Regions from separate parts of the Homo sapiens genome. Here all the other regions are linked to region 1. Evidence: promoter capture Hi-C in 16 types of primary human blood cells and fetal thymus (Javierre and others, 2016). All regions are on one chromosome and are shown on one strand. Each heading gives the region's core, a stretch centred on a gene start or on the middle of the fragment in contact. The rest is flanking DNA. Distances are from core to core; before and after follow the strand shown. Region 1 holds the start of NOD1 (nucleotide binding oligomerization domain containing 1). Region 2 overlaps WIPF3 (WAS/WASL interacting protein family member 3). Region 3 overlaps WIPF3 (WAS/WASL interacting protein family member 3). Region 4 overlaps WIPF3 (WAS/WASL interacting protein family member 3). Region 5 overlaps SCRN1 (secernin 1). Region 6 overlaps SCRN1 (secernin 1).

Region 1 (4,399 bases), core at 1,163-3,662:
TAGGGCTGTAAAGTGTCTAAGGGTTGTTGCCAAAAGAGCCATGGACTGGGCTATGTTTTCATATTTGATGAAAAAAAGCCTAAATGCTAATTGATTTGGGAGAGGTTGGATAAAGAAAAAGGAGCATTAACCTTGAGGAAATTGTTGGGTAGGTAGGGGAGGGCTAGTTGCGGAACGAAACTGTAAGCTGGACCGGGTGTGAGGAGGTGAGGTGATAGAAGGATTATAGGGTGGGGGAGTGGAGGCAGAGGAAGAATTGGGACCTGGCTCAGCCTGGCGAGGAGCAGCCTGGGGAGGAGGGGAGAGGTTAGATGGGTCCATAGAAAAGGAGGATTCACAGGACTCAGAGCTTGGGGTGGAGACTGAAGGAACAGACAGGAGAGAAAGAAGATTTGGGATGAGTCACATTGGGAGCAGAGATTAGGAAGGGACCAATGTGTAAAAGAATGCCTGGACATCAGGCACCTCAGACTATTTGCCCATTTTACGACAATAATTATCTAGCTCATGTAGGATGGAGAAATTGAAAGTGCCGTTTTCTGGCTATTTGGAACCATTGTTGAGTCTGTATTGGGGTCAAACGGTATTGCAGAAGAAAATAAGGCGTTTAGGTTTTAGGTCAGGTGTGAGTTGAAGAGGTTTTAAGTTCTTGAGAACACAGGCTAAGGGAGAAGAAGGGGGAATGGAGGGTGGAAGGTTGCCCATAGTGAAGGAGGCAAGCCCAGAGAAAAGAAGGTAGAGACCCGGAGAAGGGGGGTGGTGAGCAGCCCTGGGCTGCAATGTGGCTGAGCAGCCAAAGCAGGCGACCCACAATTGACTTGCCACCAAGGGAATGTGGGTGAATGACCAAGGCAGGCATCCCCACGGTGATCAGACACCAATGAAATGTACGTGAATAATCAGGCAGGTGTCCCTGCAGTGATTAAACACCAAGGGACGACTGTTTTCCTGAGTCCGTGACCGGAGCTGGAGTTTTGGGTCCATGGATAAAATATGTCTCCTTTGTCTCTACTAGAGAGGAGAAAGAACTGGAATTGGAAATAGAGGGAGATTTAAGGGTAGTGAGAGAGGCTGGAGAAGACAGTGAAAAGACCGCTTACCCGATTTGAAATTGGTGAGATGTTCCTTGGGCTGTTTGGTCTGAGGACCCGAGGTCATAGGTGGATCTCCTCACAGAGTGAGGGTGAGGACAGGGGACTGGTCTCCTGAAGGAGTCCTCCTGTCCCGGGTCTTCGGCACCAAATGTCACACGTGTCCGTGTGAAGAGACCACCAAAAGGCTTTGCGTGAGCAATAAAGCTGTTTATTTCACCTGGGTGCAGGTGGGCCGAGTACGAAAAAAAGAGTCAGCAAAGGGAGTTAGGGGTGTGGTAGCTTTATAGGATTTGTGTGGGTAGTGGAAAATTACAGTCAAAGGGGGTTGTTCTCTGGTGGGCAAGGCGGGGGCCGGGGGGGTGGAAGGTCTACAAAGTGCTCAGTGGGGGAGCTTCTGAGCCAGGAGAAGGAATTTCACAAGGTAATGTCATCAGTTAAGGCAGGAACCAGCCATTTTCACTACCTTTGTGATTCCTCAGTTGCTTCAGGCCATCTGGATGTATACATGCAGGCTTGGGCTCAGAGGCCTGACACAAGTTGGCACATTTGATCCTATCAACTTTAGTTTGCACTTTCACTTTTGATTTAAGAACATACTTTCTGTTTCTCAGAGGGCAGCCTCTGATGGGAATTTTAATACTCACAAGCATCAGTGGCTATATGATTGAATGTACTTCTTCAGTGTGAGTAAGTGACAACTTTCTGTAGCATGATATCCCTTATGGACACGATCCCCATTCAAAACGTTTTAAAACTATTTTATTGGGGACATTTATTAGCATGTTAAAACTCTTTTACAACCTATTAGAGCATATGCATAGAACATAAAATGTACACTGCCAAGAACAAATTTAAGGATAGGAAGAAAAGCTTACATTTTTTAAAAAGTATAAATTGAAATGTATGCAGTGTAATTTAAATTTGATTACGTTAACCTCCATTTCATCAGGACCACGTGTCGCGTTTTAACAAGAGTTTCCCTATCATGTCCAGGCTTTGGCTCTGGTTGCAGGCGCTGGGTAGGCACTTTTACGAGGAGGGACCTGGCACGATGGCACCACAAATTCCCAAGTGTGTCACCTCTGGGCGAACTTGGGCCTGTCCACTCGGCCCTGCGCGGTGGCCAGGGGCTCACCCTCTCGCACCGGGCGTCCCTCTGCGCGCAGCTTCTCTCGCCCCCCCGCGCCAGACCCGGGCGAATGGCAGCACCGTGGGACCCTGCCTTGACCGCCCCCGCCCTTCGGCGGCCTCTCCCAGCAGCCGGCAGGCTCTTGGGCGCGCCAACAGAGGGGCGCGGCTGCGGCTGTAGTCGCAGCCAGTTCCCGTTCCGGGCCCGCGAGGCAGCCGCCCCGGTCCTGCCCCTCCCTCGCGCTACTGCGGGAGCAGCGTCCTCCCGGGCCACGGCGCTTCCCGGCCCCGGCGTCCCCGGACCATGGCGCTCTCCGGGCTCTTCTCTAGCTCTCAGCGGCTGCGAAGTCTGTAAACCTGGTGGCCAAGTAAGTCCCAGCGACTGGGGATTCGCGCGGGGCAGGCCCTTTCTGAGGTCCTGGGCGCTGCGAGTGAGGAGGCGCAGGGAGGCGGGATTTGCGTGCGGGCGGAACGCAGCGCGGCTCTGGAGGAGCTCTGGGTGGAACCAAGCGGAGAAACCCGCGAGTTTGAAGCATGTAGCGAAAGTTGAGAGGGATGAACTTCACAGTCAGCGGAATCGTTTATCCCACTGTGGTCGAACGCAGGGGTTCTCAATCGTGCCAGCAGCTTAGAACCACCTGGGGAGCTTTTAAAATCCAGATATCCAGGCTGCACCCTAGATCAATTCCATCAGAATCTCACGGAGTCAGACCCAGGCCTCCGTATCTTTTAAAAGCTCCCCAAGTGATTCCAGTGTGCAGCCAGCGTTCGAGGGTTTGTGGCAAAGGCTGGAAGGGCAGACAGGGGCCTTCATGGAGTCCCGCCTGCAGACGGGACAGCAGCTCCCAGTGTCCTGCTTGGTCCTGGAGAGAGGGTGAGAACTTCCCTTGGGTTTCATGCTCCACAAAGTAAGGAAATGAGACAATGCTTGGCAAGGTCGCCTGAATATCACATTCAAAAACGCCTCCAATGTGTGCAGTTGTTTTGGCACATTGTGAAAAACATAGGAAATGACAGAGGTTGATGTCTCATTAGCTCTGCATTCTAGGAAACATTTCGGTTGTTGGTGTTTGAAATTAAGTCTGGGGAAGCTAAGCTAGTAAACCCATGGCCTTGATGACTTCTGGCCTTTCTGCTTTAAGGGTGAAGCCAGGGCCGGGCGCGGTGGCTCACGCCTGTAATCCCAGCACTTTGGGAGGCCAAGGCAGGCGGATCACCTGAGGTCGAGAGTTCGAGACCAGCCTGGCCCAACATGGTGAAACCGTCTCTACTAAAAAAAAAAAAAAAAAAAATTAACCGGGCGTGGTGGCGCATGCCTGTAATCCCAGCTACTCGGGAGGCTGAAGCAGGAGAATTGCTTGAACCCGGGAGGCAGAGGTTGCAGTGAGCCGAGATCGCCCTGTTGCGCTCCAGCCTGGGCAACAAGAGCAAAACTCCGTCAAAAACAAACAAACAAACAAAAAACAAAAAAACGGTGAAGCCAGAAGTCGTGCTTGCCAAAGGGTCGAGTTTGTTCTCCCTCAAAGCCCCTGTTGAAGATTGAACTATCACTTTCAGGGAAGAGTAAAAGAGTAACTCCACGATGCATCTTAGAGAGGAGTGGATTCCCTGTTCTCACCCAGGCTTAGATGCCAGGGGCCAGGTAGCTGAAATCCAGGCAAACCAGGCATTGACAAAGTACAGACTTCTACCGAATATGCCAGACAGATAAGCAAGCTGTGTTTAAAACAAACAGCAGAGTGGTAGAAGAGGGCTCTTTCAAATATTGTAAGAAGAGTAGGTTTTATTTTTGTGGAGTGGAGAAATAAGTTCACGCTTTGGAACCCATCAAATCTGGGTCAAAACTCGGATTCTGTCACTTCTATGCTGTGACTTTGGGCAAGTTCCTTGACCTCTCCAAGCCCCTGTTTTCCCACCTGTAAAATAAAGAGCAACCCTCTCCTGAGGCTAGCATAGTTCAGCGAGATGATGTGCATCACACACCTGGAAGGTGGTGGCGCTGGCAGGTGCTCTGGCAGAGGTAGTTATTAGACACTGGAGTGGCAGTTTGTGCCCGTTAATTGTTTACTTAGTACAGCCACTATGAGGGAGAATGTCTATAAAATGTTCCCTTCAACGCTCCATTCCTTCTCCTGCCCTGCTGCCCCGCTCAGGGCCTTAGCGGGCTTTAAGTCTGA
Region 2 (4,399 bases), core at 1,216-3,715, 610 kb after region 1:
GTGGAGATGGGGTTTCGCCATGTTGGCCAAGGTCTGATATCTTAAACAGTACAGTGTACAGAACTGTGACTGTTACCTGGAGCACAGAGCTGATTCACCCTGTGCCCCTTTGCTTCCCTGGAGGTAAAGCAAAATGAGGGGGTCTTTTTTTGGGGCTATGAGTCTGGTCCTGTTCTTTACACCCATAAAACAAGCATACCCATCAAGGTTATCTCATCCACTTTCATAACTTGGTTACTATCTGCAGCTGTCACATCTTTGCTTAGGGATGTAAAGGTCACCTCATACTCATCCCTTTTCCTTATTCTTAACAGCCAATCCATTGCAAACTCCTGTTGTTTTTCCTGATTTCTCAGAAATCTGTCACCTCTTCTCCATCGCTGCCATGATGCCTTAAGCAGGCATTCATCACCTCTGGATTCCCTTATGTGGTTTTCATGTCTCCTTGCCCTCCCCCACACAACAGACAGAGTAATCTTTATAAAAGATGTATCATTAATTGTGTCATTCTTTGCTGCATCCATTTGAATTGAATCCTGAGGATTCAAATCCCCTCACGATGCATAAGGCCCTTAGTGACCAGCCCAGACTTTCCACTCCTTGAGCCTTCCATGCTGGTGCTCACCTCAAGACCTTGGCTTGAGCTGATCTCTGCTCTTTTTACACTTGCCTCTTGGCTGTCTCCCAAGAGGCCTCTTGATCCTGGAAGTCCAGATGAAGATCCCTATCTGTGTTCCTAGAGCAACATGCTTACCCTTAGCAGAGCATCTACTACCCAGATCATGTTATTCCACTCAAAATCTGCAATGACTTTCCATCTCACCCAGTGGAAGAAAATCAGAGGCCTCATTAGTATTGCCTGCTGAGCTTGCCCAGATTTCCACGGGGTACCATGAGTTTATGTATAAATGCCAGCTTTTTCCTACCCAAACCAGTGTTATCAAGCAGTTCTACTGTGTGCCAATCCCTTCCTAACTACAAACTGCACATCTGGCAATATATTGTAGTACTAATTTTTAGCAACAATGAGAATTTCGATTCCAGTATTAATTCTAAGTCTCTTTAGTAGGGAATAATCAGAAAAATATAAGAATAAATGTTAGGGATGGGAAGAATAGAAAGAAATATGGAGAAAGAGAGATTTGGGACATGTGTAAATTGGGCAGATACAGATGGATTTCAGAGGCAGGGATTAGAGACTCAACTACCCCATAACTAGCAATTCAAAAGGACATTAAACATATAAATGGTGGATCAGACACTAGACAAAAGCATGTCTTTAAATGCACATGATGGTTACTTTAACTGGTAAAAGTAGTTCACAGAAACTTCTGGAAAGAAGGGGCTTGAAAAGATGGTAAATAGAAATCAGTAAAGCGAACCCCTTGAATAGTAATATAACCCAATATTATTTAAGATTTGAGTGCTAACTCTGTGCTAGGCATGGTGTTAAGAGTGGGGATACAGGTGGGGCGCAGTGGCTCACGCCTGTAATCCCAGCACTTTGGGAGGCCAAGGTGGGCGGATCACCTGAGGTTGGGAGTTCGAGACCAGCCTGACCAACATGGAGAAACCCCGTCTCTACTAAAAATACAAAATTAGCCAGGTGTGTGGCACATGCCTGTAATCCCAGCTACTTGGGAGGCTGAGGCAGGAGAATCTCTTGAACCCGGGAGGCAGAGGTTGCAGTGAGCCAAAATTGCGCCATTGCACTCTAGTCTGGGCAACACGAGTGAAACTCCATCTCAAAAAATGAAAAAAAAAAAAGAGTGGGGATGAAGTATGGGTAAGATTGCCAGGATGTTGTGCTTGGGGGGTGTATGTACATGTGTGTGCGTGTGTGCACATTCTCTGCATAATGATGTATCAGTCAGTAATGCACCACACATACGACGGTGGTCCTATAACAGTATAATACCATATTGTTATTGTACCTTTCCTATGTTTAGATATGGTTAGATACACAAATACTTACCACTGCGTTACAGTTGCCTACAGGATTCACTGAGTACAGTAACATGCCATACAGGTTTGTAGCCTAGAGCAACAGGCCATACCACATAACCTAGGTGTGCAGTAGGCTCTACCATCCAGGTTTGTGTGAGTGCACTCTAGGATGTTCACATGATGACAAAATCACCTAACAATGTAGACGCTTCAGAACATATACCCTTTGTTAATCGATGCATCACTGTATATATGTGTGTATATACACACATATATGTACATATATTTAATATATTTGTGTATGTGTGTGTATATATATATATATATACTTCTCATTATTTATACTCTAGACCCAGAGCCTCCTAGCTGGTCTCCAAAATTGGACTCTCATCTCTCTTTGAGACAGCCTTCAAATGATCGTTTTTAAAGTGCTAATTAACTCCTCTTCTCAAAATGCTTCAATGGCCCACTAATCTCTACCGAATCAAGGAATTCAGCCATACTGTCCCAAGATATCTTTCCTTGGCCAGTTGGAGCCTCATTTCAGCTGCTCTGGGTTTATCCCCTGTCTCTTCTTTCCCACTTCCAAGCCTGTGCTCAGCCCACCTCCTCTTCTGGGGATGCCCCACACCCCACTCTGCCATATCTGCCAAACCTTTCATCTCCCCGTGAAGCTCTTGACACCAAATACAGTTTACTTTAGAAAATGTATTTTTTCCACTTTCTCAACTAAACTTTTCCTTGTGTGATCTGCTTTTCCGCTGCCAAGGCACATCGTTTTTAATTCTCTACAGCACTGCTCATATCTTGCCCAGTATTATAGCTTCTACATATTGGTCTTGCTTCTTATTTTTGAGCACAAAAACTAAGCCACTCCACTTTCTCTTACCAGTGAATCCAGCTTAAAAAAACTGTGAGCAACCTATCAGTATTTTGTTGACATGAACTCTATAGAAACCTTAGTCCCTGGATCTTCGACTCTGCCTCCCCTGACATTTATCTGCTCCCACAAAGCACGCAGGTGTGGGAAGAGAAGTGGCTGTTTTTTGAGGTCACATTTCAGCCCTGATTCATCCTAATGTCTTCACCCTTTTTATCCTTTGGCCACTGTGTCCCTAGAGATGTGAATTCAATTCCGCACCATTCTCTCCTTTACAATGATGCCAATATTCTCAGGCTTTTAAGACTAAATTTTAAATTACGAGAAAATTTGATCTTCAAACTTAAGTTGGACCTAGAAAGAACAATCTCATGAACTCAAAAAAAAAAAAAAAAAAAAGCTGGGGTGTGGAGGGGGCGGGGGCAGAGCCAGGAGTCAAGGGCATGGCACCAGGAATAACTAATAAATAATACCTAGTTAGAACAGTGTGAGGTTTCATATCTTCTATTTCTTCTAGACAAAAAGTACTATCAAAAAGAAACATGCCCCCGCCTGGCAGATTAATTTGCAAACTAATGAAATAACATTACCGTTGTTATTTCCAACTCACAGTGCTGCTGGCCCTCAGTCTCTGTTAAGGGCTTCTCCCCATTCATCCAGGCTCGAAACCTCAAAGGTCCCTATGGCTCCTTGCTCTCTTTCTCATTTGAAATAACCAGTCTTTTACAGAGTCCCGGCTCCTTCTCTCTACTTAGAGTGCACACAGCGGTGACTTTGGCGTTTGGGTAAAGGAATTAACAAGACGGCTGCAACATGCAATGGGTGACAATGACAATACCAATAATAAAAAGAAATGGGAAGGCATTTGTATGTGCCAGGCACTGTCCCAACTGCTTTGCATGTATTAATTCATTTCAAAGGCCCTGAACAATTCTATAATGTAGGTGCTAGTTATGAGTATTATGTCCAGTCTACAGATGAGGCACAAGGGTGAAGCAGACCATCCACTGCTACCAAGTACAGAGCTGAGCAGTGAGTACAGGCAAGTTTGGCTTTCTTCATCACAACACAGCCTCTTATACCCAGGAAATACAAGACAGGCCTGAAGCTGGGAGAGCGGAGAGGTCCCACTGCTCTCTGGCTTGAGGCCAGGCTAGATGTTGCCTCACAAGCAGTGTGAGAGCCAGAGCAGGAAGGAGTGGGCAGGAAAGGGGCATCAGAGAAGGAAAAGGGAGGGTGGGTAGAAACAGACAGTGAGTGGAGCGCCGAAGAAGGCTGGGGCCAAAGGAGCTAAGTGCTAGGCTTTTGCCAGAGCCAGAAAGGACAGCCAAGGCTGAATGACAGGCTCTGAGAAGAGCCTGATGAGTGCATTAAATGCCAGCAGCCACCTTGGCAGGGGGACTGAAAGCACTTAAAATGGAAAGTGCACAGAGTAACCCTATGCTGTGTGGCTGATACCCTCAACTGTAAATAAGCTGTACCTGAAACTCCCTTGTCAGGTAACAGAGAACCTCTTATGGAGCAGCCCTGCTGGTCCACCTCTCTCTTGTGAGTGTTGGGCCTCTTCTCTCC
Region 3 (4,399 bases), core at 1,900-4,399, 590 kb after region 1:
CACCTGAACTTACTTCAACCAATAACACCGTAAGGAAGCTGCTAAAGGGGTGGAAGTGGCATGGGGCTCTCCAGGGTCCAGAATCAGAGGTGGGGACCCTGGTCCCAACAAGGAACTGGCAAAGCCCCAGCAACCTGAAGCACCTGAGAAGCTCCTGGGAGGGTTTTGAGGGGAGGGAGAGGTGGGCAGAATGACTGGGGAATGGAGGAGCATGGCCTGTGTCTAGGGTGGGACCTGAGCTCCACAAAGCAAACAGCTTCTGCTCTGGGATCTGTTGGCAGGAGGGGAGGGCTCCTGTGGCCCTTTCATGGGCTGAGCCCCTGCTTTGTGATCTGGGCCTCTGTCAGACACTAGCCCAGCACACAGAAGGGATCGAAAGATTCCACGGCTTCACATCTGACCCCAGGTGACTTTCCTTCCTACCTCCATACTTGTACTCAAAATGTCCCTCTACCTGGTGAGTCTTCTATGTATCTTTCTCCTTATCCATATCATTCTACTCTTTCAGGCTTATGCATTGATTTCTCCATAGACACACACACACACACACACACACGCACACACACGCACACGCACACACACTCACACAGTTTAAATGCTGCTTTTCTTCCCTTTCTCTAATCTGAATTAGAAGGCTAGACAGTGGGCCTTGAAACTATGCAGAAAGCCTTGAAAGGAACCCTATTTAACAGAACCTATGGGCTGGTTGGTGCTGGAGTGAGCCCCTGTTCATGAAAGAAGCATGCACCCTGAGATGGCAGCACTGTGGCCAGCAAACTCTCTCTCCAGAGGTTGGGAGAATCACTTTCCTACTGGCAGCCAAACCGGCAGAGGGTGCAACCCACTTACCAATGATGTGCAGGCTTCCATTTCGCAGTTGACCTCCAGGCTGCTGCGTCGGGGTCCAGGCTGTGGCCTGCTGGCTCTTGCTTGAAAGCTCTGTGGTAGGTGATCTCGCAGGGGGTGCTGGAGGTGGATTTAGCTTTCCCCCACCGGCCCCTTACAGAGAAGATGATGGTGTACTCAGAAACACGGATGGGAATGGTGGATGCTATAACCTTATGTGAGATATTAGGCATTTCTATCTTCAGATGTAATATGATACAGCGAGTAAAAGGGCAACCTCTGGAGTCAACCTGCTTGGCACTGAATTGCAGTTCTCCTGTTGGGATAAGTAGCATAGCCTCTTTGTGTTTTAGTTTCCTCATCTGTAAGATGGGAGTAGTAATAGTACACCCACTTCCCAGGGTTACTGAGAAGATTCAATGAGTTGAATTTAAGTTGAGTGGCATGTAGTAAGTCCTCAATAAATGTTAGCTGCTGCAATAATATTAATGATGGTGATAACCTTCATCATCAGGTACAGCCCAAAGCAGGGGAATCACTAGAGAGTGGTAAGAACAGGAAGGGCTGTCTGTAGAAGAGGCCCAGAGGGAGGCTTGAAGAGGGAGCGGCCAGGGGCTTGTTCTGCCCCTGTGTCCCTGCTCACACTGGTTCTCCAGCACTGCAAATGCTTGTTTCTCTTTCCGGTCCACCTAAATCTTACGTGCCCTCCAGGGCCTAACTTGAATCCAACCTACTTCCTCCAGCCTTCTCTGATCATGCCTGAGAGGCTCACTATCTCCTTTGCCAATACTTTCCTGTATGGTTCATCTGGCAACCCAAAATCTGCTATCCTGGCACATCAGTGCAGGGGTTCCACTGCTGCTTATTTCTTCAGTGGCACTGCAAACATCACTTTGCTTCTTGAAATGATGACAATTACATTATTACTATCTGTGCTAAGATGTTCACAACTACTACCTCTCTCTTTTCCCCCCATGTTGGGCTAAAGTAGAAATTGCCCTTATTTTGAACATGGACAAACCAAGTTTCAAATCCAAAGATGCAAACAAGAAGGGCAGATATGAATCCCCATCCTGGCCTTGGGCTCACTACTCTGGAGCAGATGAAGGGGCCCCAGCTGCAGCAGGCATTCTCAGTCATCAGCCGCCATCCTCGTGTCTCATGTCCCTTCAGCATCTGCTCATCTTCTTTTCTTCCTCCCAACTGCCTTCCTCTCCCTTTCTGGTCTTCCCTTTCTGGGCACAAGGATCTATGAGGAATTTACTTGCTCCCACATGCAGTAAAAGGACTGCAGCCCCTCTTCTGGGTGAACAGCTGCCCCACTGTGTGGTAAGGAAATAATGCTGCTGGAGCTGAAGTTACATGCAAGCCCTTTATGCAGATTTCTCATTTCATATTCCTAATAATCCTATGTGAAAGGTGTTATTAGTAGGCCCATTTGTCAAATAAAAAAAATTCAGTATTAATAAAAAACAAACCCAAGTGGTGTGAGTTTCCACAGGAGTGGGTGAGGAACCCAGGATCTGAACTCATAGCCCTCTGAATCAAAAGCCTTGTTTTTGTTGGCCGGGCATAGTGGCTCACACTTGTAATACCAGCACCTTAGGAGGCTGAGGTGGGCTGATCACTTGAAGTCAGGAGTTCGAGACCAGCCTGGCCAACATGGGGAAACCCTGTCTCTACTAAAAATACAAAAATTAGCCAGGTGTGGTGGTGCACGCCTGTAACCTCAGCTACTCGGAAGGTTGAGGCACAAGAATCACTTGAACCTGGGAGGCGAAGGTTGCAGTGAGCTGAGATCCTGCCACTGCACTCCAGCCTAGATGGCAGAGTGAAACTGTGTCTCAAAAAAAAAAAAAAAAAAAAAAAAAAAGCTTTGTCTTTTTCATCACATCATAAATAGATGAAAATAACAAATATCAGAAGGGGCTTATCAGCCCAAATGCTGGCCCTCATGGTGACCAGTCAATTGAAAAGAGAATGATTAAAACCTTACCTCTTGTAATCAAGAGGCTTAAAAATATCTTTGCTCTTTGCACCAGGAATTCCCTTTAAGACACCAATACTTTTAGAAAAATATCAAAAACGTGGATTAAAATTTCTACAAAAGTATTTCTTAAAATATTACTCATAATAACAAAAAATGGAATCAACTTAGATATCTAACATGAGGAATATGGAATATATTGTCATGCTTATAAAGACATTTTAACAATTTGATAAAATTGTTTTTAACATAATGTTAAATAAAACACAGAACACAAAACTGTATGTGAAAAATGGTATTAACCATGTAAACGTGTACATATATTCAGAAAAAAGAATTGAAGAAACCTATCCAAATGGCAGTTTTCATCTCTGGGTGATGTTATTATGGGTGATTGAATTACTTAATTTACTCAGAGACAGCAGCATCTGGCTCTGTCATCCAATCTGGAGTACAATGGCACAATCATAGCTCCCCACAGCCTTGAACACCTAGATTCAAACGATCCTCCTGCCTTAGCCTCCCAAGTAGCTGGGACTATAGTTGTCTGCCACCATGCCCAGCCAATTTTTTATTTTTATTTTCTGTAGAGATGGGGTTTCGCTGTGTTACCCAGGCTGGCCTAGAACTCCTGACCTCAAGCCATCTTCATGCATGGGCCTCCCAAAGCAGTGGGATTACCGGTGTGAGCCATCCGTACCTGGCCAGTTTGAATTTCCGTCTATTAGCTCTGCAACAAGCTTGCGTTATTTTTAAGTCAAGAAAATACTTTTAAGAAGCTTTCTGCATCAAAAGATTTTCTAAAAGACAAAGGAATATGTGTGTTGGGGGTGTGCATGTGGATGTGTGTGTTATGAGTGTGCATATGTTTGAGTGTGTCTGCCTGTGTGGATGTGGGTGTATCTGTGGACGTGTGGAGGTACTTTCCATTCACAGGGGCACTAAAACTGAATGAAGCCTCCTACTAGCGGGATCAAGGAAATCAGCCATGGGGCATGAACGCTCAATTCAAATAACCTGTGCTGCATATGTGAAGGAATTATTTTTAATATTTGGCTCAAAATACAGGCCCTCAGTTTTCTTGAGTCAGCCGGAGAACCTGCGAAAACTAAGGCAGAGTGGGAATCCAGTTTACTGAGGGCCGGCGAAGATTCTGGCTGGGATCCAGATAGGAAAACGCGGGCAAATATAAAAGGAGGCCTGGTTCTGGAAACAAGCCACACTCACGCCCCCTCCACCTCAGGGAGGAGATTGGGAGTTGGAAGGTTGGTAGTAAGAATAAATAATCCCTCTCAAGCTCACTGTTGCCCTGTTCCAAGCACCTCAAACCTAAGAACTCACTTAATCCTTAACAACAAACCCAGGAGGTAACAACTATTGCCATCTATCCCCATTTTACAGATGAATAGAAGGGAGAACAGAGAGGCCAAGTGGTCGCCCAGGGCCACAGAGCTAGTAAGGGCAGGGGATCAAGGCCGGGATCCCTTGCTTACATGCAGCATGATTTTGGGCAAGTCTCTCTGCCTCCCTCACCCCTGGTGTCCATCTCTGAAACGAATACCTCCA
Region 4 (4,399 bases), core at 716-3,215, 570 kb after region 1:
TCTTAGGCTTTGTTCACTTTTAATTTTTTTTCTTTCTGTTCTTCTGACTCAATAATTTCAGTTGTCCTATCTTCAAGTTTGTTGATTCTTTCATCTGCCTGCTCAAGTCTGCCTTTTATTCCCTCTAGTAAATTTTTCATTTCATTTGTTGTATTTTTCAGCTCCAGAAAATGTTTTTTTCCTCTTTATTGATACTTCCATTTTGTTCATACATCCGTTTCTTGACTTTCTCCACATTTTCCTTTAGTTCTTTGAGCATCTTTAAGACAGTTGTTTTAAAGTCTTTGTCTAGTAGATCTCCCATCAGGTCTTTTTTAAGAGCAGTCTCTATTGATTTGTTTTTTTTCTTCCTTTGAATGGGCCATACTCTCCTGTTTCTTTGTATGATGTGATTTTTGTTGTTGTTGAAAACTCTACATTTTAATCTAATAATGTGGTAACTCTAGATATCAATTCTCTCTGTCCCCCAGGGTTTGCTGGTTTTTCTTATTGTTTTTGTTCATTTTATTTTTTTGATTGTTGTAGGCTGTCTCTGTGCTAAGAATCAGTCTGAGGTGTAATCTTAAGGTCTTCTTGGTCTTTTCTGAGCCTGTGCCTTTCCCTGGGCATATGTGGTCACTTTCTAATTTTCATCATATATGTAGTAGCCTTTGAATGTTCATCTTTAATGTTTGGCTCCCAAATGGGGAAAAAAAAAGAGCAAGGACAGGAGGAACAAAATGGCCACCAGCCCTTGAAATCCCCAGGAGGCCACTTCAGCCAGAGGGAAAGGGATTTACAACAATAAGAGGAGGTGCAACAATGGCTGCCCATCTCTTTATTTGTACCTCTGTGATCAGAAGCAGCAATAACCAATCAGAGAACAGATTCCCCAGTATCTGGAGGACAGGGTTTTTTTTTTGTGCCCACCTTGGCTCCTGCAAGCTGTATGCAAGCTGCTCCAGGAACACGTGCCCAGTTGCCTGCCATGGGGTGGGGGGTGGAGGATGAGTAGTTACTATTGTACTAAGAGCACAATTTACTGTCCAAGCTTTCCCATGGAAGTTTCAAGCCTTTAATGAATCCCAGAGTTCCAAAATACATGAGACAAATTACATCAGACAGATTCTGCCAATGCAATTGTTGTCCACAGATTCCTGGTGCTTTCTCCTCTGCCATCTTCTCAGAATTCTCTCTACCTGTTAACAATATTGTGTATATTCTTCCTGTCTTTTTTCCTGTGTATATATACTTCTTCCTTAACTACAATCATACACACAGTTTTGAACCTGTGATCGTCTAAGAATCGTTACTGCAATTCTTGCATCAGCTGTGGTTAGAAAAGGGGGATACTTATCTGCTAGAGGATGTACTTTTTCCTCTGAGGAACTCATCCTAGCTTCCAGGAACCTAGCCTCTTCCTTCTCAGGTCACTTTCCTTGATGTTCCACACAGTTGCAGAATTGCCTGGTTTAACTGCAAGTGACTCTGTAGTCTGTCACATAGTATTCAGAAATGGGGAGATTATTGTTCGACTGAATACATGTTTTCAAAGAAACAAAGGGCTTTTAAAGATGAGACCCTGTCATGTGCAGGGAAATGTGTCCAGGTTAGGAAATAATTCGGTTCAAGATGCCCTGGGTGAGATTAAAGGTGTTTCTTCAAGGACTGTCTTATCACAAAAGCAGCTGTCTGGCTTGCCTTCTAGTTCTGTTCATTTCTTGTGGGTACTAGTACTTGAATTGTGACTAAATTTGGCCAAAATCAATTATAACATTGGTGGGGGAAAAAAAAACTCCAAGTGTGCTAAAAGAAACCATGTATTCTACAGATGAGAGAGAATACTGAATTATGTTTTATACATGTTATTCAGTTTTTCTCACAGGCCATCATAACCAAGGAAGAATGGGAAGTGATTGGCATGATTGTTGCAGAATGTCAGAGTTGCTAAACTTGCTTCTATATGTAGTGGTGATTCCAGGGAAGCCCCCTTTTGTCACACTTCAGATTTTGAAATGGTGAGTGTTTCATTCTGGCTTGAAAAAAGGTCCACCAAATGGCTTTCCCTGAGGAAAAGGAGTGTGAGGAAAAATATAAAGCTGTTTAGGAGAAAGCATACCCTTACCATTTCTGTGCCTCCTGAGGAGAATTCCTGGTTTTACATTCAGAGACATGAGGCTTGTGTTACCTGAGAATTTCTGCCTTTGATGTCATCAGAGCTCTGCCCGACTGCTTCCGCTTGGAGCCAGGGACCAGGTGTACGGCCTGAAGGAAAAAAGAACAATCTCATTATCTATTGGCCCAGGGACCGGGTGTGCATGTTTCACAGAGAAACTTTCTCTAAATCAGCACTTAAAACAATGAAACCTTCAGGATCCTGGCCCTAGACTGTCTGTTTCCACCACTCCCATCTTCTATGTCAAAGACCATGGATGCAGAAGAGTCATGTCTAATACTCTGAGAAGAGAACAAATTATTAAGGCCCATCAAATAAATGCACGTTAGAACTTCTTTACCCAAATATACCATCTCCAGGGATGCTCATCCATTATCCACAATGTGCCCAGCAATACCAGGGCTGGCTAAAAAAGTAAAAGATGAGTAACTGCTGACAAATCAGGCCTCCCATCCATGAGGAACCAAATCATTCTCTCAAGTGTGCTGTGCTTAAGTATTACACAAGTTACATATGAATATCTTCTTATAGTTAAGAATTCAAAAAATAAAGGAGATAATGGAAAAAAACCTCAAAGTTCCTCTTCTCTTCTTGTTCCTCCCCCAATCCCAATTTTCTATCCCAGAGTCACCATGGCTAAAAGTTTGATGTTTATCTCTTCAATTTTTTTTTTTCTTTTTGGTATTTCCATACATACATCTGTATATATACAGATACATGTTTTGGTTGGTCTACCCAAGCTTAAATCCCCATTCCCAGGTGTTCCAGAACTCTCCCTTCAACTGGTTATTCCAAATGGTGTTTCCTCTGTTGCACTGGTAGGACACCTATCTATTCTGTTTCTGTCATGAACTAGGCATTAAATAATCATGTCCCAAAGTCTCCAGAACAATCCAGATTGCTGTGCTATTTAAAAAGCAACAGAAAAGCATGAATGTTCATTATAGACTATTTATAATAGTGAACAATTAATGACCTGTGTTCAACATAGGTTTTTAGGTAACGTAGGGTTCAGTATTACATGATGGAGTACTAAGCACCTGTTTTTTTATTATTTTATTTTTCATTTTATTTTATTTTTTAGACAAGGTCTCCCTCTGTCTCCCAGGCTGGAATGCAGTGATATGATCATGACTCACTGCAGCCTCAACCTTCTGGACTCAAGTGATCCTTCCACCTCAGCCTCCTGAGTAGCTGGGATCACAGGTGTGCATCACCACATTCAGCTAACTTTTAAAATTTTTTGTAGAGACAGGGTCTCACTATGTTTCCCAGGCTGGTCTTAAACTCCCAGACTCGAGTGATCCTCCCGCCTTTGCCTCCCAAAATTCTGGGATTACAGGCATGAGCTACTGCACCCTGCAGGAAACTGAATATTTACAAAGACTCATTTTGGAGAAATGAATTTGTATAAATAGAATGATCTCAACTATTTTAAAAATTCATTGAGAAATACATAATAATATTCTGAAATGTTTCCTTCTAAGTGGTAGAATCACCATTAAAAAAAAAAAACACGCTCTTTTTTGTTTGTTTGTTTTGAGACAGAGTCTTGCCACAGGCTGGAGTGCAGTGGTGCTATCTCAACTCACTGCAACCTCCGCCTCCCAGGTTCAAGCAATTCTGATTCCTCAGCCTCCTGAGTAGCTAGGACTACAGGTGCTTGCCACCATGCCTGGCTAATTTTTTTGATATTTTTAGTAGAGACAAGGTTTTGCCATGTTGGCCAGGCTTATCTCGAACTCCTGGGCTCAAGTGATCCTCCCACCTTGGCCTCCCAAAGTGCTGGGATTATAGGCATGAGCCACCATGCCTGGCCAAAAAACTCCCTTCAGAAATATTTTTTCAACTTTTCTACAACATATATAAGTCATTATAAAAACCTTTTAAGGTAAGGTACAATTTTTTAAATTGGACTATCACGTAGAAGGGTCTCTAAAACTTATAACACATTAATCAAATGGACACTGTAATTTTCATTAAAACTTCTTAATGAGTGCACTTGTCCTAGAATAAAGATATTTTAGAGCAAAATATATAGTAACTGCTAGATTTTTAGCTAGTTTATTAACTGAGCAAAAAGTAAAAAAAAAAAAAAAAGAAGAAGAAGAAGAAGAAAACACTAATATACAGCCCCTTGTCTAATTCCATGTGAGAGGGTAGCCTTGGAAATGACTGTTCTTAGATTTAAGAAACTCCTGTCCACTACAGAAAGACCTTCTAGGCCAGGGGTCTGCAATCTTG
Region 5 (4,399 bases), core at 1,176-3,675, 550 kb after region 1:
TGTCAGAGTATCTCCTTATCTATTTGGAATTCTAAATGTGATTTTCTGTAAAGATTGATAAGAAATCAAAATGTTTGGGAACCACTGAGTTACCCCCATTCCCCTTTTCTGGGTACATAGACACAAATGATGAAACCTGAATTATAGATAATTTCCACATCCTGGTTTAAACAAATATTAATATTGCAATTATTATCAGCAATAATTTTTGTTAATATTTTATGTAATTATTATTTTTTAGATAACCTTATTTATTAGTTATATAATTTATTCAATCTCAAAAAAGCTTTTAACCACCTCAATACATTTAGGCTTTATATTTTTTATTAGTTGAGTATACTAAGCTTTGAAAAAATATTTGGAGAGCTTTGGCTGCTTTAGAATATTTTGGGAACCTCCTCATATTTATTATGTATTCTTTTTAAACTAAAATGGATAGATGAGAGGGACAAACTTATGGTATCTCTTCTCTTAGAAAAGCACCAGACACCCTCATTGATTAACCTCTCCATTCCAGTGAGCTTAGGGTGGGTTTAAAGTTACATCACATAGAGCATTCTGAGTTTTTACTATGCATTTATCCTATATTGAATACAGAAGACCCTGACTGTGGTTAGCATGAGCTTACTGAAGCTGGCATCACAAGTTTACAAGCTTCATGACAGAAATAGAAATAAACGAGTTGTAGAAGCTAGAAGGGACTGTTGAGATCACTGTAGTCAGATGAGAGCCAGAGAGGGAAAACATGGACCCACAGTGGGTCAGACGCAAAGCGGGGACTCACACCCCCGTTCCAAGTCCCAGCCCAGTTCCCTGCCCTGCTCTGTGGGAGGTAGCTCCGCCCAGCGGTGCTGCCAGGCTGTCCCCTTCCCTCACTTCTTGGCATGGCTCTCCCAAGGGGTCCTGTGTCAGAAGAGTCCTGAGATGCGCAGTAAGGGAAGCACTGAGGTTTTAGGAGTGAAATGGCAGGTTTCCTGATGAAGATACTGCTCCCACTTGGGTTTGGAGTGGGCTTTGGAGTGGCATGGGGATTGAATGAAGTAGCATTGCATGGGGCCTGCTCAGTAGGCTCCGCAGGAGGGCGTGGTCGCAGTTCCCTTGCCTGCCAGGTGTTGAGCCTGCACCAGTTCCACCGTGAAGCCTACCAGCCCAGGTGGGAGTCTTGGCTTTGCCCAGTTCTGCCCAGCGCAGAGCCCTGGAGCTGAGAAGATGTGAACCGAGCTGACTCTGGGCTGCTGGGTGGGAGCCCCGGGCCTGTCTACCACTGAAGGGTTTCTGTGCCAGTGAAAGAGGCTGATGCTGCTGAGGTGACATGCGCTGACTTCCCAGGAAACCCCGAGTGCTGTCTGGCCCTCAAGGGTAGGACGCCTGTCTGTAGTGAGACAGTCCTGCTGTCAGAGCCCAGAGGTAGCCTGGAGACAGCTGGTTGTGGATGGCTAGGCGTGCTCTCTCCTGGCCCTCCTCCTCCCCACTGCTCCATTGCAGCGAGCCCTCCATCTGCAGCCCTTTTGCAGAATCAACTGACTCACCAGTTAAAGAATTCAATTTCATATAGTAAAAATTGGTTTAAACAGTTTTAGGTTTTGCAATAATTCCTTTTTCATATTCAACAGCCATTCATTCAACACTCAGTAGAGGGGTATAGCAATCATCTATTTTCAAGGGGCTGTAGGAAGTGGAAGTGTGTGTTCCTTCTGTGCAAGGGTAGCTCCCCTATGTCTTTAGGGGGTCTTCTTTTGATGATGGCTAGGGAGGGTAGGTTCTTGGCAGGGCTTGACTTTGAGCAGGTGGGCGCAGCCTGGCATGCCTTATGCTTCCCAGTGGATCGGAGATGGGCCCAGTCTCCAATTATATTTGCGTCATCTATAGAGAACAGCAGAGTACCTGACACTAGTCCTCAACTAGTACCACTCAGTTCACCAGCTTGGGGTACGAAGGTCTCACTGCTTTTAATACTCAAATTAAATTAGTCTGGGCCCCAATTTTGCATATTGTGATCAGTGTCTTTCTTTTCTCACTTGAGACTCCTGTCCCATGGCAACATCAGGAAGCTAACCTAAGAGAGTACTTCTCATTACTGTTGTGTCTTTAGTAGTGCTCTTCAGACTGGGATATGTTATGAATCCGCAGGGATCTTGTTAAAATTGCAGATTCTGATTCAGCAGGACAGGGTGGGGCCTGAGGTTCTGCAGCCGATACTGTTGCTGCAAGTCCGAGGACAAAATTGGCTGGCAAGGGTTATTGGCTCCCAGTCCTTTTCAGGTCATGGCATACCTGAAAATAGTTTTTCTTTGTCTGTTTGTTTGTTTTTGAGACAAAGTCTCGCTCAGTCACCCAGGCCGGAGTGCGATGGCATGATCTTGGCTCACTGCAACCTCTGCCTCCTGGGTTCCAGCGACTCTTCCACCTCAACCTCCTGAGTAGCTGGGATTACAGGAGCACTCCACCACATCCGGCTAATTTTTTTTTATTTTTAGTAGAAACGGGGTTTTACCATGTTGGCCAGGCTGGGCTCGAACTCCTGACCTCAAGTGATCCACCTGCCCCAGCCTCCCAAAATGCTGGGATTACAGGTGTGAGCCACCATACCTTGCCCATACCTGAAAATATTCATACCTGTGTGCCATACTGGCAAGGCTGCCCTGGCTTCCTCAAGCTCCAGATGCCCCAGGGCTGAGGGAATCAACATCCTAGCTCACCTCTAGCCCACTTGAGGTACCCGAGGTGGGCCACAGTGCACCTGTTGAGAGGAGAAAAAAATGTCCAAATCTGACAAATCTGACCTATACATATGGGGCACATATGGGGAGTTCCTTCTCTCCTGCTGTTATTGCAGGTGCTGCCCCATGGTACAGCTGAAAACAGGCAATCCTTGGGACGCAGAGGTGCCCATGCCTGCCAGGAGCAGCCCTCTGATCCAGCAGTGTTTCCTCTGGATGTGGGGAGGGTAGGATAAGGCTCTCTCCCCGGCGTTACAGTTGGCCATAGTGGTCCCTTAGCCCGTTGGCCTGGGATCCCAGGCCACAGCTGTTTATATGCGTGGCTCTTGTGTGTGTGTGTGTGTGTGGGTGGGTGGGTGGGGGGGTGATGTATCCTAGACTTGTACAAGTACACACACATGCAGGCATACGCACAGCCATTTTCCCGAAGATAACATCCATCCTGCCGAGAGAACTGAATTGAAGAGAGCTGGGGGGCATTAGCTACCTGCTGTGCCCTGTGCTAGCTCTCTCACACAACCAGACTTCTGTGTGGTGTGCACCCTCCAAGGCCTCTTCTGTCATCTTTCTTACTCTGTCCCCTCCTTGGGTCTGTCAGAGATATTCCATAGATTTTTCAGTAAGGTAGAACCTCAGAAAAAAACTAAAAACAAACCCAAACCAAAAGGCCCTTCCTTTCCCAAAGGCTGCTTCTCAGACCACGGTATTAAAAAAAAAAAAGGCAAACCTCTCTCGCTCAGCTAGATGGCTCCTTGCACCGTTTCTCAGAACACTGTTTGTTTGCCTCACTTTTTATTGCTAAAAGAGTCCTCTCAAATGGTTCAGAACAAAGGAAGTCTGTTTTGATGTCTCTTTGCTGTAAGTAGAGGAATTTGCAGCTTGTAAATGGCTGCAGTTTTGCTAAAATAGCGACTAAAACATGCAGTTATGTCTCTCTTGGCACTCACCCACCCACCCGTCACCCACACCCACCACCCACCATAAGTTGGCTTGGGAAATGTTTGCTGAATAAAAGGACAGTCTCTGGGTGTTCCCGGGTCCCAGCCTCTGCCTGGCTGAAGTGCCTCTCCTTCCTCTCCAGGTCCATATTCAAGCCTTTCATCTTTGTTGATGACGTAAAACTTGTCCCCAAAACACAGTCTCCCTGTTTTGGGGATGACGACCCTGCCAAAAAGGAGCCTCGGTTCCAGGAGAAACCAGACCGCCGGCATGAGCTGTACAAAGCCCACGAGTGGGCACGTGCCATCATCGAAAGTGACCAGGTGAGCTTGCATGAGGGCCACAGAGGCGGAGGCGGAGGCGGGCGGGCGAGGTCAGCGAGGAAGGAGGCAGGGAAGCAGATGTCAAGCTAGACCCTACCCCCACCCATCCAGTGTGACCGGGCTTCTCCCAGAGACCAGGTTCCTGGGGCCTTTCCTAGAAGGCTGGTGTCCATTTTCCTGCCCAGGCTCTTGAAACCAAATAAGACAAAGCTTCTGCTTCTCATGTTATTTTGGAATTCAGCAGGCTGAGTATCTTACTTACATTTACTGTTTACGTAGGAATAATAGGAATATGCAGTACGTTAGGGATAACTGTTATATATTGTGTAAAATTCCTTATGTACTTTTGGGGGTAAAAAGTTGTTATTTGCTGGCAACATTTTATTAAAGATACAATCATATGTTGTTTCAAAAAAG
Region 6 (4,399 bases), core at 1,010-3,509, 530 kb after region 1:
AGGTGGTGAGGAGCTTCATTGAGTGACAGAACAGCTCTCAGGGGACCCAAAGTGGGTAGCTCCATTCTGCAGGCAGGTCATCCTGACGAGTATCCAGCTCTCAGCAGAGAGGAGACCTGTAGTGGGTAGCTCCCTTCTGCTGCAGGCAGGTCATCCCAACGAGTCAAGGAGGCCCAAACTTGGTAGCTCCTTCCTGCAGCTGGTAGTCCTAACGTCTGTGTGAGTCTGACTGAGTCTGGGGTTTTTATGGGCTCAGAAGGGAGGAAGTGTGTGCTGATCGGGTCATGGGCAAGCCTGGAAAAAGCACCATAAGTTCTCACTCTGGGCTGCGTACTCCACCCGGAACTAGCAGACCAGCCTCCGGGCTTCCGGCCATTCCTGGCTTGAAGGTGGGGTTTCACTGGGGACCTGCTCCTTTCCGCCCAGGAAACTGTCTGCCTCCTGCCATCAACGTGCCATCCATGATGTCCAGGTTTTTCATCTTGGGGGGCACTGGCAGGCCCACACTGAGCTGCCCTCAGCCCTCCCAGCCTCCCTCCTGTGCTCATTGATGCCCAAAGTCTGGAGAAGCCCGAGGCGGCAGGGGGCTGGTGTGTCAGCACCACCCTAAGCATGTGCACACCCAGCCAGGTTGCAATAGCACCTGGGCTCAGCCACAACTTTGCTCTGCACTGGAGCAGGTGCTGGGAAGCGGGAAGAGGTCAGGGAGCAGGAAGCAGGCACTTCCAAGCCTGTAGGGGCAAGGGCTTCCTGGGCTCCTGAGAGTGCAGGGATGCCCAGGTCCAGAGCAGCTGCAGCTGTGCCTGGGAGCATGGGGCTCCCACCCTGCCAACTTGGTAGGGGGTGGGGCTCCCACCAGCCTCGCAAAGCACGCAACCCAGACCCTGCCTCCCTGTTGCAGCCGGCATCTTCACAGTGGCTCCTCCAGATGGGCCACCACTGCTATCACCACTTTAGGAGGCGAGTCATGAGGATCACTTGAGCCCAGGAGTTCAAGACCAGCCTGGGCAACATGGCAAAAGCCTGTTTCTACAAAACAAATGCAAATTGTAGCTGGTTGCACTGTTGCATGCTTGTGGTCCCAACTACTTGAGAGACTGAGGCGGGAAGATTGCTGAGTCCAAGAGGTCAGGGCTGCAGTGAACCATGATTGCACTACTGCACTCCAGCCTGGGTAACAGATCGAGACCCTGTCTGAAAGAAGGAAAAAAGGGCCTGATGTGGTGGGTTATGCCCCATAATCTTAGCACTCTGGGAGGCCGAGGCAGGAGGATTGCTTGAGCCCAGGAGTTAAAGACCAGCCTGGGCAACATGGTAAAACTCTGTATCTACAAAATATACAAAATTAACCCAGTATAGTGGCCCACGCCTGTGGTCCCAGCTACTTGGGAGGCTGAGGTGGGAGGTTTGCTTGAACCCAGGTGGGGAGGTTGCAGTGAGCTGAGATCATGCCACTGCACTCCAGCCTGGGTCACAGAACGAGATCCTGTCTCAAAAAAAAAAAAAAAAGAGTGAAGGAAAGAAAGGGGAAATTACTTTCTGGTTGTTAGGGTGCCCTTTTTTTTTTTCTTTTTTTAGACGGAGTCTTGCTCTGTCACCCAGGCTGGAGTGCAGTGGCACCATCTCGGCTCACTGCAACCTCCGCCTCCTGGGTTCACGCCATTCTCCTGCCTCAGCCTCCCGAGTAGCTGGGACTATAGGCGCCTGCCACCATGCCCGGCTAATTTTTTGTATTTTTAGTAGAGACAGGATTTCACCATGTTAGCCAGGATGGTCATGATCTCCTGACCTCGTGATCCGCCTGCCTCAGCCTCCCAAAGTGCTAGGATTACAGGTGTGAGCCACCGCTCCTGTCCTAGGGTGCCACTTATAATCCAAGGTCTGTCAGACATGATAATGCCTCTGGGCCTCAACATGGATGAGAACTATGAAGCGTTTGGAACCTCTTTGTCAGAAGTATGCTGGTAAATGTTTAATAACCAGCCTGGTGGAGGGAAGGGGCAGCGCTGTTTGAGTCCTTTTTCAATTTCCATGGTGTAAATACTCCCACTGTGAGGGGTTTCAAGCTACCAACAGTTTCAGAACTGGCTCAAAATCCCTAAAATTTAACCATCTGCTCTCCAAGCTGGTAGCAGCTGGCTCCAGCAGATTGCTGCATTCTTTCAGTGTTTCTTGCCTCTTCTTCCCTTTGCATAACTACTTTATTCTTTTTTTTCCTGCATGCTGACTTTTGCTAGTCCCATTTGTGTTTAACAATGGCACTAAAACCTAGTCAATTCCAATATTTCAGAACATCTTATAATTCTGGACACATTCCATCAGACCTTCAGCATGTTAAAAATCACAAAAGTCCTTGGCAAAAGGCCAGTGTGAAAATTTGGAAAGGTCTGTAGTTTGTCTTTAGGTTGTTGGTGAATGTGAGGACTCAGGTGATTTAAAAGGAGGTTCAGTCACCATTTGTAGGCGGGAGGAACCTGTGTAATCAGAGTTACTATTTCCTGAACACTGTAGTAAGACATGCTTTGCACATATTATTTCATTTAACTCTCACAGTAACCCAATGAAGTAGGTCTCCTCCCCTTGAGAGTGAGGACACTGGAGCTTAGGAGGGTTGAAGGAGTTGCCCAAGGCCCCAGAGCTAGAAGGTGGCTAAGCCAGGGATCCCAGGGCCTGCTAGCCTCAGAGAGGCCACTCCTCTATGTAGTGGAGCACATTTTACTTCACCTGTCAATGACGCAGGAATTTCGGGACACTGAGAGATGGAGATAAGTCAAAAAGTTTCACACGCTCTTTCCCTGGATCACCTTCACATCCATCACCTGTGTTATCACTCGTCTTAGTCCATTTGGGCTGCTATAACAAACATACCATAGCCTAGGGGGTTGAAACTACACAAATTTATTTTTCACATTCCTAGAGACTGGGAAATCTGAGATCAAGGCACCGGAAGACCCAGTGTCTGGGGAGAGCCTGCTTGCTGGTTTGCAGACGGCCATCTTCCCCCGTATCCTCACATGGCAGAGAACAGAGAAAGAGGACGTGTTCTGGTGTCTCTTCTTTTAAGGGCACTAATCCCATCATGGTGCCTCCACCCCTCATGACCTCATCACCTCCCAAAGGCCCCGTGTACCATACCATCACACTGGGGATGAGGCTTAACATATGAATTTTTGGGGAAACCAGGGGGACAAGCAATCACTTCATAGCATTACCTTCCTGCTTCTAGCCCTCTGGCTGAAGGCAGGGAATTTCCAATTTCCAAAAGGTCCTGACCTCAGAAGGGCCTGGCAGACTGCTTGATTGTGGGGAGGAGGGAAGATTATTTGCACCTGAGTCCTATAAGAATACTAGGCCCACCTTTCTAAGGGGGCTGTGTTGCCTATTTTTATTACTTTTCCCAAGTCAGTGATTATATATCCATGGCAAATCTAGTTTTACCTGATTTGAGATAGAAAAGGACAGGGATCTCCTAATCCATGGAGGCACAGATGTTGAAAAGATAAGCAGAGTTTCTAAACAAACGGGCTTTAAGCAGGAGAAGTACAGGTGTGACCCATCTTTCTCAGTGAGATGTGTTAACTTTTCAGGAACGGGCAGGGTGAGCTTGACATACCTGTGAGAAGGTCATGGGCTCCCAGGGAAAGATTTTCCTATAAAACTAGGAATTGAATTCAGGAGCATCTAATTCCCAGGCCCAGAGCAAGCTGGACAAAGCACACACTTTGGAAGAATTCGAACTGCACAGAAGATAGATGTTACAGTGGAACTCTAACCTTGGCCCATTGAGTTTCTTCCCCTTCCCTGTCCTGGTCCTGCCCAGGCAGAGGGGTAGCAGCCAAAGTGAAATTAGGCATGGGGCCAGAGAGCACTGCCCTCTTCTGGAATCACATGAATCTGCCGCATGTAGGAGGTGAGACTGTTGGGAATGGCTTTAACATTGGCCTCTGGATGCCATGTGACTTGTGGCCCCAGGTCTCTCTGGCATCTCTTCTGCACCCAGTGACATGGGATTCATCTGCATTTCTCAGTTGCAGAGGGCAAGGGTGTAACCCTGGTGTTATTCACGGCCCATGTACTATGGAGCAGTTGGCCCTGTCCTCATGGCATGGTAGGAAGACCAGGTGGGAATAATCAGGTGGGACAAAGGGGTATCTCTGACCCATGGTCCTGGCACAAGGGATAGGAGGGTGAAATCAGAATTAGGTCTGTGGATAGTGCTGAGGTCCTGTTGCCAACTCTGCCAGAGGACATCAAAGTCAGCATGGGAGGGCAAGTGCAAGTCTAGGGCCTCAGTGTGGAATGCAAACAGGCAGAACATCAGAAGAGTACACTGGAAATCAAAAAAGATAAGTCACAAGCTCCGAAGACAGGGCTGTTACAGCTGGCTGTGTATTCACAT

What was found. Contacts are between HindIII fragments. The CHiCAGO score rates a contact against its expected background, and 5 or more counts as called.
Region 2: a fragment that was not itself captured here is called in contact with the fragment with the promoter of NOD1 in region 1 in 1 of 17 cell types (total B cells); the score reaches 5.1 in total B cells.
Region 3: a fragment that was not itself captured here is called in contact with the fragment with the promoter of NOD1 in region 1 in 2 of 17 cell types (total B cells and naive B cells); the score reaches 7.7 in total B cells.
Region 4: a contact is called between a fragment that was not itself captured here and the fragment with the promoter of NOD1 in region 1, in 1 of 17 cell types (neutrophils). The highest score is 5.6, in neutrophils.
Region 5: a fragment that was not itself captured here is called in contact with the fragment with the promoter of NOD1 in region 1 in 3 of 17 cell types (naive B cells, total B cells and neutrophils); the score reaches 6.8 in naive B cells.
Region 6: a fragment that was not itself captured here is called in contact with the fragment with the promoter of NOD1 in region 1 in 2 of 17 cell types (neutrophils and total B cells); the score reaches 10.4 in neutrophils.

Annotation. Positions count from the first base shown.
Region 1 is chr7:30,476,797-30,481,195 of GRCh38, reverse strand. It overlaps NOD1 (nucleotide binding oligomerization domain containing 1), which reads left to right and starts at 2,412. Exons shown (of 14, transcript NM_006092.4): 1 at 2,412-2,590. RefSeq lists a silencer at 2,284-2,523 and an enhancer at 2,172-2,916. The HindIII fragment of the contact is 7,069 bases long and covers 1,967-4,399 here.
Region 2 is chr7:29,866,395-29,870,793 of GRCh38, reverse strand. All of the region lies in intron 2 of WIPF3 (WAS/WASL interacting protein family member 3), which reads right to left. Among named protein-coding and RNA genes, the nearest start is that of WIPF3, 62 kb to the right of the region's middle. The HindIII fragment of the contact is 6,783 bases long and covers 1-4,399 here.
Region 3 is chr7:29,884,668-29,889,066 of GRCh38, reverse strand. It overlaps WIPF3 (WAS/WASL interacting protein family member 3), which reads right to left. Exons shown (of 9, transcript NM_001080529.3): 6 at 850-999. Among named protein-coding and RNA genes, the nearest start is that of WIPF3, 80 kb to the right of the region's middle. The HindIII fragment of the contact is 853 bases long and covers 2,723-3,575 here.
Region 4 is chr7:29,902,131-29,906,529 of GRCh38, reverse strand. WIPF3 (WAS/WASL interacting protein family member 3) reads right to left here. Exons shown (of 9, transcript NM_001080529.3): 8 at 2,168-2,244. Among named protein-coding and RNA genes, the nearest start is that of FKBP14-AS1, 84 kb to the left of the region's middle. The HindIII fragment of the contact is 1,865 bases long and covers 1,033-2,897 here.
Region 5 is chr7:29,926,035-29,930,433 of GRCh38, reverse strand. It overlaps SCRN1 (secernin 1), which reads left to right. Exons shown (of 8, transcript NM_014766.5): 7 at 3,802-3,982. Among named protein-coding and RNA genes, the nearest start is that of FKBP14-AS1, 60 kb to the left of the region's middle. RefSeq lists an enhancer at 596-1,095. The HindIII fragment of the contact is 3,538 bases long and covers 657-4,194 here.
Region 6 is chr7:29,946,491-29,950,889 of GRCh38, reverse strand. All of the region lies in intron 3 of SCRN1 (secernin 1), which reads left to right. Among named protein-coding and RNA genes, the nearest start is that of FKBP14-AS1, 40 kb to the left of the region's middle. The HindIII fragment of the contact is 5,029 bases long and covers 1-4,399 here.